Linked DNA regions of Homo sapiens: region 2 is linked to region 1. Evidence: promoter capture Hi-C in human tissues and cell types (Jung and others, 2019). All regions are on one chromosome and are shown on one strand. Each heading gives the region's core, a stretch centred on a gene start or on the middle of the fragment in contact. The rest is flanking DNA. Distances are from core to core; before and after follow the strand shown.

Region 1 (6,242 bases), core at 2,418-4,917:
CTCAGCCTCCTGAGTAGCTGGGACTACAGGTGCATGCCACCCCACCCAGCTAATTTTTGTATTCTTAGTAGAGACGAGGTTTCACCATGTTGGCCAGGATGGTCTTGATCTCTTGACCTCGTGATCCACCTGCCTTGGCCTCCCAAAGTGCTGGGATTACAGGCGTGAGCCACCGCGCCCGGCCTGTTGAGTATTTTTTTGATTACCTTGTAAAAATGTTTGTGATGATACATTAATTGTATTGTGTTATGTACTCAACCTCATTGAATCTTTGTTCTTCGGGTTCTATGGTATCTAAAAAGATATTATTCTGAGGATCTAGCTTCACCTTATGAAAGCAGAACGTTCTTTCAAAAACTGAAAGAACGAAGATAAAGCCACTCTGAAGTTGTTTTATTTAATCACACACCTAATAGATGAAATTCTCAGGCCTGGTGCGGTGGCTGACGCCAGTAATCCCAGCATTTGGGAGGTTGAGGTGGATGGATCACCTGAGGTCAGGAATTCAAGACCAGCCTGGCCAACATGGTGAAACCCTGTCTTTACTAAAAATACAAAAATTAGCTGGGCATGGTGGTGCATGCCTATAGTCCCAGCTACTTGGGAGGCTGAGACAGGAGAATCACTTGAAGCCGGGAGGCGGAGGTTGCAGTGAGCCAAGGTCATGCCACGGCACTCCAGCCTGGGTGACAGAGCAAGACTCTGTCTTGCGGGGGGGGAAAAAAGAAATTCTCCATTCCTAGGAACAAATGTCAAGATCATCTTTTTTTTTTTTTTTTTTTTTTTGAGACGGAGTCTCGCTCTGTCTCCCAGGCTCGGGTGCAGTGGCGTGATCTCAGCTCACTGCAAGCTCCGCCTCCTGGGTTCATGCCATTCTCCTGCCTCAGCCTCCCCAGTAGCTGGGACTACAGGTGCCCGTCACCATGCCCTGCTAACTTTTTTTTAAATATTTTTAGTAGAGACGGGGTCACTGTGTTAGCCAGGATGGTCTCGATCTCCTGACCTTGTGATCCACCTGCCTCGGCCTCCCAAAGTGCTGGGATTACAGGGGTGAGCCACCGTGCCCGGCCTGTCAAGATCATCTTAACATTCAAAGTTAAATTAGTTGAACACAAACCAAATAGGATTAAATTCTCCATCTCTGGGGGTAAATGAAGTTATTTAGCACTGTAAACTTTAATCAAACTGGGTGTAGTGGCTTACACCTGTAATTCCAACACTTTTGGAGGCCAAGACACGAGGATCACTTGAGGCCAGGAATTCAAGACCAGTCTAGGCAACATAGTGAGACCTTGTTTCTATATATTTTTTTAAGTTTTTAAAAAAGTATTAAAAATAAAATAAACTTCAATCAAAGTGATAACCTCAGGTAAGAAATACTGCAAAATGATTGTGATTGATTTACCTTAAGTCCAATCTCATGTATTATATCCTTTATGAAGAAAGATAATGAGTAGAAGAGCAATGGTCAGCATAAAGTGTAACCAAAACAAGGCTGGGCACGGTGGCTCAGGCCTGTAATTCCATCACTTTGGGAGGCCAAGGCGGGTGGATCACCTGAGGTCAGGAGTTTGAGACCAGCCTGACTAACATGATGAAATCCCATCTCTACTAAAAATACAAAATTAACCGGATATGGTGGCGCATGCCTGTAATCCCAGCTACTCAGAAGGCTGAGGCAGGAGAATCACTCGAACCCGGGAGGTGGAGGTTGCAGTGAGCTGAGATCACGCCATTGTACTCCAGCCTGGGCAACAAGAGCGAAACTCTGTTTAAAAAAAAAAAGTGTAGCCAAAACATAAACAAAAAAATCTGTCCAAGAGTCAGAAGTGATTTGTTTTATACTATTCATATGGGAAAAACACGTTTATTCTGATAGCCAGGAATATGGACATGGTGACTCACCAGACCAAACTGTAATTCAATTTATTAAGATTTAGCCAGGCACTGTGGCCCATACTTGTAATCCCAACGTGTTAGGAGGCCGAGGCAGGAGGACCTCTTGAGGCCAGGAGTTTGAGGCTGCAGTGAGCTATGATGGCGCCACTGCGCTCCAGCCTAGGCAACAGAGACACTGTATCAAAAGAAAATAAATTTAATCAAAGTACTTTTCAGGGACAGTACTCTAAATGAAAATGAAACTGAATCACTGTCAAATGGAATACTTGTTTTTCCAGTATTCCAGATAGTTTTCAGGTTATCTATGTATCTTCTCTTGCAACATCCGCTTCATACACAAAAGCTCTAGGATTGATGATTACATACCCAGTCCCACCCATTTGGACCCTGTTAAGCACTGAAGTTTACTACAAAAATATATATCATATAATCTCCAAACTAAATATTCATTGTTGCTTGTCCAAGACCAAAACTCTCATAATGGCCTAATTAGGTAATGTAACACAGGATGTACTCTTTTCTCACTTTTTCTTCTAAGAAACAGAGCCTTACTCTGTCACTCAGGCTAGAGTGAAGTGGCGTGATCATAGCTCACTGCAGCCTCCAACTCCTGGGCTCAAGTGATCCTCCATTCTCAGTTTCCTGAGTAGCTAGGGCTACAAATGCATGCCATCATGCCTGGCTAATGTTTTTATTTTTAATTATTTTATTTTATTATTATTATTTTTTTGAGATGGAGTCTCGTGCCCAGGCTGGAGTGCAGTGGCGCGATCTCGGCTCACTGCAAGCTCCGCCTCCTGGGTTCACGCCATTCTCCTGCCTCATCCTCCCTAGTAGCTGGGACGACAGGCGCCCACAACCACGCCCGGCTAATTTTTTTTATTTTAGTAGAGACGGGGTTTCACCGTGTTAGCCAGGATGGTCTCGATCTCCTGACCTCGTGATCCACCCGCCTCGGCCTCCCAAAGTGCTGGGATTACAGGCGTGAGCGACCGCGCCCGGCCAAAAAAATGGTCATTTAAAGCTTAAAAAAGCTGTTTGTTAACATGTATATTATTTTTAAATGAATTAGTAACTTAAAAATTTATTACCGTATTAGTAAGAATACAGTAAATATCAATACCCGTACCTGTAATCCCAGCACTTTGGGAGGCCGAGGCGGGCGGATTGCCTGAGCTCCTGAGTTTGCGACCAGCCTGGGCAACACGGTGAAACCCCGTGTCTACTAAAATACAAAAAATTAGCCGGGTGTGGTGGCGGGCGCCTGTCGTCCCAGCTACTCGGGAGGCTGAGGAATTAGAATTGCTTGAACCCGGACAGTGGAGGTTGCTGTGAGCCGAGATCGCGCCACTGCACTCCAGCCTGGGCGACTGAGCGAGACTCCGTCTCAACAATTTTTAAGAGGGTAAAGGGGTTTGGGATGAAATAACTGGAGAACAGCTGCTCAGTAAGAAACAAAGGGCTTCAATCCTGACTCGCGATAGGTTTAATCCAGCCAGAGGCCCTTCCCCAGAGAGCGCCAGTCACCGCCCACCCCATCCACACCCGCAACCGAACGCAGGACCCCCCCGCCCCCTGGTAAGAATCCTGGCAAATAACAGATATTGACGAAATGGCCGGGCTTATATACCATGCATACCCAGGCGAGAACAGGTTCACTGGGCGAGCGAAAACTAGGTCACGTAAGGAAAGGAGTGTCTTCGGCGAATCTTTGCGACACTGTCGTGTTTCAGTGGTTCCGTGCCGTAAAGAGAGGCCGGGAGCTGCCCCTAACCGAGGCAGCAGCGGACGTGAGCGATAATGGCGGATATGGAGGATCTCTTCGGGAGCGACGCCGACAGCGAAGCTGAGCGTAAAGGTGGGTTCGCTGGTCTTCGGAGGATGGGTGCGTGGCAGGCCTTCCGCTGTGGGAGCCGGACAACCGTGGAGGCTCCAGCGCCGCGGGCAAGAGGTGGCGTTTCCTCCACTCCTGCCTCAGCGCCCCCTGCACTCCCGGAGGTGCCATCCTCCTCCGGCGGGCAGGATGGAGAGTCAGACAGTCTGCGCCTCGAGGCTCTGGGTGTCGGTGGAGCAGACGGTTCCTGGGAGCTTGTGGAGCGAAAGGGGCGCGGGGCATGGGTGGAAGTGCAGGCGAGCCTGCGCAGCGCGGGTAGGAACGTTGGAGTCCTGTTCCGCCTTGCCTTGCACAGGCCAGCGTAGAGTAAGGGCTGTTTTTGAATGAATGGAAATGAATGCAGGAATATGGGATGGGGTGGGCGAATTTACAGAGGGCCTCAGAATGCCGTCTTGAATGAAACCAGAGCATGGTGTGATAGGGAGCTTGAGATGTCTGGATGACGAGTCTGGGACGGATAATGGGATGGGGTTACAGATAGATGTTTCACATAGGAGAGAATGTGTTCTCTAAGAGCTTGTGCAGAAACTCCAGAATTTCCGGAGTCTGTGATGTTAGATTGGGGAGTGCATGGGGTCTGTGTACAGAGAGGAGGAATGAAGGATTTGTTGATGAAATGAATGAATTAGTGTATGTGCATGCTGCTTGGAAGTTATTTCTGGCACAGGATTGTGGGTGTTTTTTTAAAGTTTACTTTTTTAGAGACAGGGTCTCACTGTGTTGCTCAGGTTGGCCTTGAACTTCTGGGCTCAAGCCATCCTTCTGCCTCAGCCTCCAAGTAGTTGAGACTACGGGCACTTGAAATATGAATAGGAGCTATTTGAAGTGAGAACCCAAGACCAAGTTCAGAATTCTTGCAACCCTCTAGGCTCCAAGTAAAGTGAGTCTCTTGTAGACAACATATATCTAGTTGTTATTTTCATCACCCCCAAATAAAACACTGTTCATAAAGCACTTACTCCTCATATGCTCCTTCCTCCAACCCCTGTCTGCTATTGTTTCTGTACTTATCTGTTCTGGGAATTTCATATAAATTGAATCATGCATTGTGGTCTTTTGTGTCTGGTTTCTTTTACTTAGCATAATGTCTTCAAGGCATTGTAGCACATATCAGTACTTTATTCATTTTTAATGATTTAATAATATTCCATTGAATGTGCACACCCTAAATTTGTTAATCCATTTATCTGTTGATGGACATTGGGTTGTTTGAATAGTGCTACTGTAAACATTCCTGGTTCCGGCAGGCGGATTTGCCTGAGCTCAGGAGTTGAAGACCAGCCTGGGCAACATGGTGAAACCCTGTCTCTACTAAAAATACAAACTGTTAGCCAGGTGTGGTCGTGCGTGCCTGTAGTCCCAGGTACTCAGAAGGCTGAGGCATGAGAATCACTTGAACCCAGGAGACAGAGGTTGGCAGTGAGCTGAGATTGCATCACTTCACTTCAACCTGGGTGATAAAGTGAGACTCTGTCTCCAAAAAAATAAATAAATTCATGTACATGTTTGGGTGCCTGTTTTTAATTTTGGGAGGAGGGTATTATGTAGGAGTGCAGAGTCATATGGTAATTCTTTAATATTTTGAGGAGCAGCCAAACTGTTTTCCATAGTGGTTGAGCCATTTTACATTACCACCAGCAATGCACCAGGGTTCCCTTTCCCCACATCTTTGCCAACAGTTATTTTAAGTTTTTATTTGTTTCTAAAGTAGCCATCCTTGATGTTATCAAGTGGTGTCTCATTGTGGTTTCAGTTTACACTTTCCCAAAGGCTAATGATGCTGAACATCTTTTTTTTTTTTTTTTTTTTTTTTAACGGAGTCTCAGTCTGTCTCCCAGGCTGCAGTGCAGTGGTACAATCTTGGCTCACTGCAACCTCCGCCTCCGGGTTCAAGCAATTCTCCTGCCTTAACCTCCCGAGTAGCTGTGATTACAGGCACCTGCCACCATACCCTACTAATTTTTGTATTTTAAGTAGAGATGAGGTTTTGTCATGTTGGCCAGGCTGGTTCCAAACTCCTGACCTCAGGTGATCCACCTGCCTCGGCCTCTCAAAGTGCTAGGTTCAAGCGATTCTCCTGCCTTTGCCTCCTGGGTTCAAGTGATTCTCCTCCCTTATCCTCCCGAATAGCTGGGATTACAGGCGCCTGCCACCACACCCTGCTAATTTTTGTATTTTTAGTAGACATGAGGTTTTGCCATTTTGGCCAGGCTGGTCTCAAACTCCTGACCTCAGGTGATCTGCCTGCCTCGGCCTCTCACAGTGCTGGGATTACAGGTGTGAGCCACTGCGCCCAGCCGTTGAACATCTTTTCATGTATTTATTGGCCATTTGTGTAACTTTGTTTGGAGAAATGTCTATTCAAGTCCTCTGTTTTAAAAAAATTGGTTTTAGGCCAGGCACAGTGGCTCACGCCTGTAATCCCAGCACTTTAGGGGGCTGAGGTGGG
Region 2 (6,242 bases), core at 1,568-4,067, 100 kb after region 1:
AAACAACCACAGCCGTACTCAGGCTCCACTGAGAATACATAAGCTCAAACACTTAAATGGGGGAGACTTGGACTAGAAAAATTTCCTAAAACTACTGATTATGAAGCATTAGCAATCATAACCATGAATTAATAATGATGGGTATAGAATAGCTTTTTAAAAGGGTCTTTGAAAATATGGCATGAATTGTTTTATGGCATTCCACTTTAAAGAATGCAGTTAGAATAGATGCCTTAACATCATTTGTACTCTGTAATCTACCACTGAATTTTAAGTTTCCTTCAATATACTTTTAGATCTGTTATAGTAGAGAATTAAAGAATGTTATTCAAAATCATTGTGTAATAAAACCTCACTAACATCATTAAGAAGAAACTTATTGACCAAGTTGATGAAAAATGTAAATAAAGTATCTAAACCAATAAATGTCTAAGTCAACAGTATCATATATTTAAGGCTACCAATGATGTACCTCTAAAAATATGATTTTCTCCACACCCACCTATAAAAAGAAAAATCAAGTGTTACCACATAATGACTTTAAAATTCTGGGGCTTACCTTTTTTTTCTCCAGTGTAGGGCACATAGTCTTCCCTGTCTTTATGCTCCAATGCTTCTTTCTCCAGATATGAAAGGAGATGCTCTCTATCAAATGGCCCTGTGGTGGACTTTGATGTCTGGTTCTTCTGCCGGAACCCTGCAGGCAGAAGGGCATTCTGCCAGAGAGAATGAATCAGCCAATATGACCAATAAGAATGCTAATGCTATATGCTTCCGAAGATTACCCATATAAAAAAGAATTACAGACTGGAATGTGATACAGGCACTAAACACTTCATTGCAGGATTTTAGGACAGCAATGTACAATTGCTCCAAACATTAAACTTCTTTTTTATTAGGTAGAATTCACTTACATTATTATTAAAATAGGCACATACATTAGTACAGTTTCTTTTCTTTTTGGAGACAGTCTCCTTCTATCCCCAAAGCTGGAGTGCAGTGGCATGATCTCAGCTCACTGCAACCTCTGCCTCCTGGGTTCAAGTGATTATCATGCCTCAGACTCCCAAGTAGCTGGGATTACAGGCGCCTGCCACCACGCCCAGCTAATTTTTGCGTTTTGGGTAGAGATGGGGTTTTGCCATGTTGGCCAGACTAGTCTAGAATTCCTGACTTCAGATGATCTGCCCTCCTCGGCTGCCCAAAGTGTTGGGATTACAGGTGTGAGCCACCGCGCCCAGCATACGTTTTCTAATAGAACATTTTCTTCAGAGAGGATTCTACTAGCAGAAAACAATCTTTAGTTTTTAAGTGTTCTGGGATACTAATAAAAAAGTTTTATTAACCACATACCACATCTTCTTACTTACATAAGTGGGAGTCAATGATGAGAACACACGGACATATAGAGCACACATATAGAGCTAAGTGATGAGAACACAAGGACATATAAAGCACACATATTGGAGCATAGAGGAGGGTGGAGGGTGGGAGGAGGTAGAGGATCAGGAAAAATAACTAACAGGTATTAGTGATGAAATAATCTGTACAACAAACCCCCATGACACAAGTTTACCTACGTAATGAAACCTGCACAGGTATCCCTGAACTTAAAACGTTTTTTTTAAAAAGTTTTATTAATGCTTAATAACTGCTCAGTGTATATATATGTACAGAGAATAATTCTATTACAAAAGAGTTTTAAATGACTCTGTACATTATATTCCTTCATGACTTCCATTTCATTGTACAGACTTCTTCATGATTACAACATATATACCATACAGTAGGATATCAGATTAATGTTTACTTCAGTTTAAACACAACGTGAGATGTTCCACTTGTGTGTGTATGCGTACATATATACATGACCACTAGGATGTACTTGCTACAATCACTATCATTGTTTCACATGCCCCAAGGGACCCCTGACATACTCACAGCAAGAGCTATGTTCCTGGGTTTCCACACGGGTACAGCCTTTTTGAGCGCATGGACTGACTTAGAGATGAGGGAGGTGCAGTGGAAGGTGATGGATTAAAGTTGTCTCCTGTAGTCCCTTAATTTTCACTAAGCCCAGTAAACACAAGGGCTGACTAGACAAAGTGAGTACCGTCCTTTCACTTGTCAAAAGCCAAAGAGGTGATACTGCCTTGTCTCATATTTCTGGGTATATCTTTGCTTTGAAAATGGGAGGCAGCCAGAGAAATCACACAAAAGGGCCAGCTCTCTTTTGCAAAACCTCCCAATATTGGCAGTGACGCTGAATTTCATGGGTGGTATAAGACAATTTTTCATTATAAAGGGTAATCTTATATGGGCAATAGTAATAGAAAATATTCAATTTGTAACTAGGAAATACAGCACTTCAACTGTGGTCATTTGTTGAGACACATAATAATTTTCATAAAATTCACTTCTGTGTTACCCTTTATGTAATGGTACCTACTACACAGAAAGCTGAACTGTAAAGACGAAACATTCCTAACTTTGTACCAAGTATGTTTCTGTAATACAAAATTGTTTATGGAAACATAAAAAAGAAACATAAGATTTCTACCTTTAGACTTAGAAATCATGAGAGGAATTACACATGAAGAATCCATTTCCAATTGACCTGCAAGTCCTACTCATTTTTACTTCCTGAAGAACTCATTCATCTTTTTCCCATCTCCAACATTATTACTTTGGTCGAAACTATGATCTAAGCTTGCTGAGACTGTTACATTAGCTTCCCACCTGGATCAGCTGCCTGATATTTTTTATCCTTCACCACCAGCCCCTCAGTCTGTCACCCTAGCCTCATCTCACACACCCTCTCCATTCCAGTCACACTGGACTTTTTTTTCTCTCTTGTACTTGCCATATACTTCCTTCTACCACCAGGCCTCTATGTGTGTGGTCTCCCTTCCCTGGAATGCTCTGCCTATCCCTTTTTGCAACTCATTTTTCAGATTGTAGCTCCATTCCCCCAGGGAAGCTTTTCTTAACCTCTCATCACAAGCTCTTACAGTGTGTAGCACTTACCATTCTTTTAATATGGTATGATTATTTGGTTAATGTCAAACTGCTCCTATTCCTACCAGCCTGCGTCATGAGGGCAAAGACCACATTTGTTTTGCTCATTCTTGTATTCCTAAGCCTAGCATAGTACCTGGGGTCTACAAGTTGCCCCCAAATATTTACTGAATAAAGGTGTTAGAATGCTTTTAAAGAAAGATTCTCATTAAGGCAAATTAATAAAAAGTTACTTTCCTTCTCCATCATTAATGCATAGATGTATATATTGCTATTTCATGGTGGTGGTAATGGAATTTGCACTACTCTACCTGCCTGCTCAAGCCCATGTGACACACACAGTCTTAAATATGATAGCTGAAATCCTGGCTCCCTAGAAAGCCTTTTTTTTCTTTCTTTCTTTTTGGTCTGGCTCCTTAGAAAGCCTTTTTTTTCTTTCTTTTTTTTGGGTAGGGGGGAGACAGGGTCTTGCTCTACTGCTCAGGCTGGAGTACAGTGGTGCGATCACAGCTTGCTGCAACCTTGAACTCCTGGGCTTAAGCAATCTTCCTGCCTAGGCCTCTGGAGTAACTGGAACTACAGGTGTGCACCACCATGCCCCCGGCTAATTTTTAAAATTTTTTGTCGAGGCAAGGTCTTGCTATGTTGCCCAGGATGGTCTGGAACTCCTGCTCTTAAGCAAATCTCCCTCCTTGGCCTCCCAAAATGCTAGGATTACAGGTGTGAGCCACTATACCCGGCCAAAAACAGTCTAACCACAATCTAAATGAAGCTAGCTGGTTTTAGAGACTATAAACCCATGAACCAAGCTTCATTAGAAATATGTTCTAATCAAGTAAGCTAATAGATCATAATTACTTTTCATATAAAAATTTTCTTTAATATGATTGTCACTAAAAATGACACGTTTCTCTCTTGCAGTGCAATTTTGCTGTAAAATATATTCCTAGCCTTGGGGGGGAAAAAAAGCTCTTCCTAGGCTGGCTGTCTTCTGGAGACATATATATATATTTTTTTTTTGGCAAAAACTCAGTGAGTTAGCAAACACGTACACTGAATACAGCAGAAGGACAGTAAAACAGTCCTCCAAAATATAATAAGGTACCACACACACCTTCGACCTACTTCCTGAGACTTTGTAAGTTACAGTGGTGTTTCTTTGGCTGAAGTAGCTGCTACTACCCTTGACCTCTTTTCTTACCTGGTTCTTTACCAGAACGCTTTCCAAAAACATGTCACCCAACAAACAGATGCTGTCAATAAACATCACTGTTCTCCTAGCCTCAACTAACAGTATTGAGGTTAGAGGAATTATGACTGGGGTTGGGGAGTTTGCAAAATACATTCAGAGGTTACTCAAGCCTCCCCACACAAGAAGCAGGCCATGGATTTACAAATAAAAAATTAGCCAACAGATTTCAGACTGATACCATAGTGCATGAGTTGGGAGGAGACTCAATGTGGTTTAACAGAAAAAGACTGCTAGACTGCCAGGTATCAATCAGGCAGTGAGGGATCTAGTCCCAGCTCTTTCCCTAATTGTAATAACTGAGGCAAGTTACCTAATTTCTGTTTTCCATCTGTAAAACAGAGGGCATGAACTAGATCAATGTTTCTGAACCAGTAGTGTTTTTGTCCCCTAGAGGACATTTGACAATGCCTGGAGACATTTTTGGTTGTCAACTCAGGGGGAGGGTATTATGTTTTTCAGTCTGGGTAACATAACGAGACCCTGTCTCTACAAAAAATTTTAAAAAGTAATTAGCTGGGTATAGTGGTGCTTGCCTGTAGTCCTAGCTACATAGGAGGCTGAGGTGGGAGGATCGCTTGAGCCCAGAAGTTCGAGGCTGCAGTGAGCTATCACTGCACCACTTCACTCTTGCCTGAGGAACAGAGTGAGAATTGGGCTCTAAAAAAAAGTCATGTTTTTTATTTTCTGAGTTTTATGATGCTTTGACATCTTGGGGCCTTGCTAATCCTGGAGAGACCACTCCTTCCAGGGCTGGCTAGAGAGCGCACTATCCCCACCAACCTCCCCCGGAGCACACCTTTCATACGCAAACCAACCAATTCTCCTAACCACCTCTTTTTTATCTAACGCTCACTTACCAAGCCAGTATTTCCCCTCCCCCTAAATCACCCAGAACCAGATACTGGACAACTAGAGACTAGTTACATAGCCCTGAGCCTGTTCAAATTATTCAAACCATCTAGTCCTAAACTTGTTCAAACTTGCCTATCCTGACTCACCCATTCATTCCCATTGAACCACAATAAAGGCTCTGGACCATGCTTGTTCCTTGATCCTTTTGCCTCCTGACCAATCTAGGTGCTTCCCCCTGTGCCTCTGTGTGGCATGCTGTGCCTCCTACTCTTGGAACTGTAAGTAATAAACTCTTCTTTCAAGGCAGTAGTTTCAGTGTGTGTCATCCATTACCAAACCTGATTAAAACAACATCCTAGGAACATTTTAAAACAGGAGGAGTGTGCTACTGGTCAGGGATGTTGTTAAACATCCCTCCAAGGCACAGAACGGCCCCCCTACAACAAATTATCCAACCTCAAAAGTAAATACTGTCAAGATTGAGGAACCTGGCCTAGGGACTAGATAAAGTCTTATGCTTTTTCCAGTTTTTTTTTTTTTTTTTTTGAGATAAGTCTTGCTCTGTCACCCAAGCTGGAGTACAGTGGTGCAATTTCGGCTCACTGCAACTTCCACCTCTCTGGCTCAAGCAATTCTCATACCTCCACTTCCCAAGTAGCCTGGGGCTACATGCGTGCACCACCATGCCCAGCTAATTTTTGTATATTTAGTAGAGACGGGGTTCACTATGTTGGCCAGGCTGGTCTCGAACTCCTGGCCTCAAGTGATCCACCCGCCTCGGCCTCCCAAAGTGCTGCGATTATAGGCGTGAGCACCCAGCCACTTTTTCCAGTTCTAAAACATTTGATTCAAATAGGTCTAATAGATTGAACTGCCTACAGAAGATACTGTTGTGATGTGATAAAAACAGCATCATTATCCTGAGTAATCCCCCTCCAATCAGATGTACTGGGAACTTTTCCTTATAATAGTAATTATGGTTAAGGGATTTGATCTATGGTATAGATACATCATCCAGTAACAACAACGTTATAAAATGAACTCCATCTCAGTCCTTAGAGGATACTTAAAATCAACGTCTTGGCATAAAGAAATGTGGTAAAGAAAAGAAGCCTAGCAA

What was found. Contacts are between HindIII fragments. The study calls those that stand out against the background at their distance.
Region 2: a contact is called between a fragment that was not itself captured here and the fragment with the promoter of LEO1 in region 1, in 3 of the 25 tissues and cell types used here (dorsolateral prefrontal cortex, hippocampus and mesendoderm cells).

The regions. Positions count from the first base shown.
Region 1 is chr15:51,969,203-51,975,444 of GRCh38, reverse strand. LEO1 (LEO1 component of Paf1/RNA polymerase II complex) reads left to right here and starts at 3,667. Exons shown (of 12, transcript NM_138792.4): 1 at 3,667-3,757. The coding sequence starts at 3,700. It also overlaps a transcript of MAPK6 not described here. RefSeq lists enhancers at 3,398-3,973, 3,621-4,150, 3,974-4,550. The HindIII fragment of the contact is 14,890 bases long and covers 1-6,242 here.
Region 2 is chr15:51,863,691-51,869,932 of GRCh38, reverse strand. It overlaps TMOD3 (tropomodulin 3), which reads right to left. Exons shown (of 10, transcript NM_014547.5): 3 at 560-716. Among named protein-coding and RNA genes, the nearest start is that of TMOD3, 37 kb to the right of the region's middle. The HindIII fragment of the contact is 4,580 bases long and covers 528-5,107 here.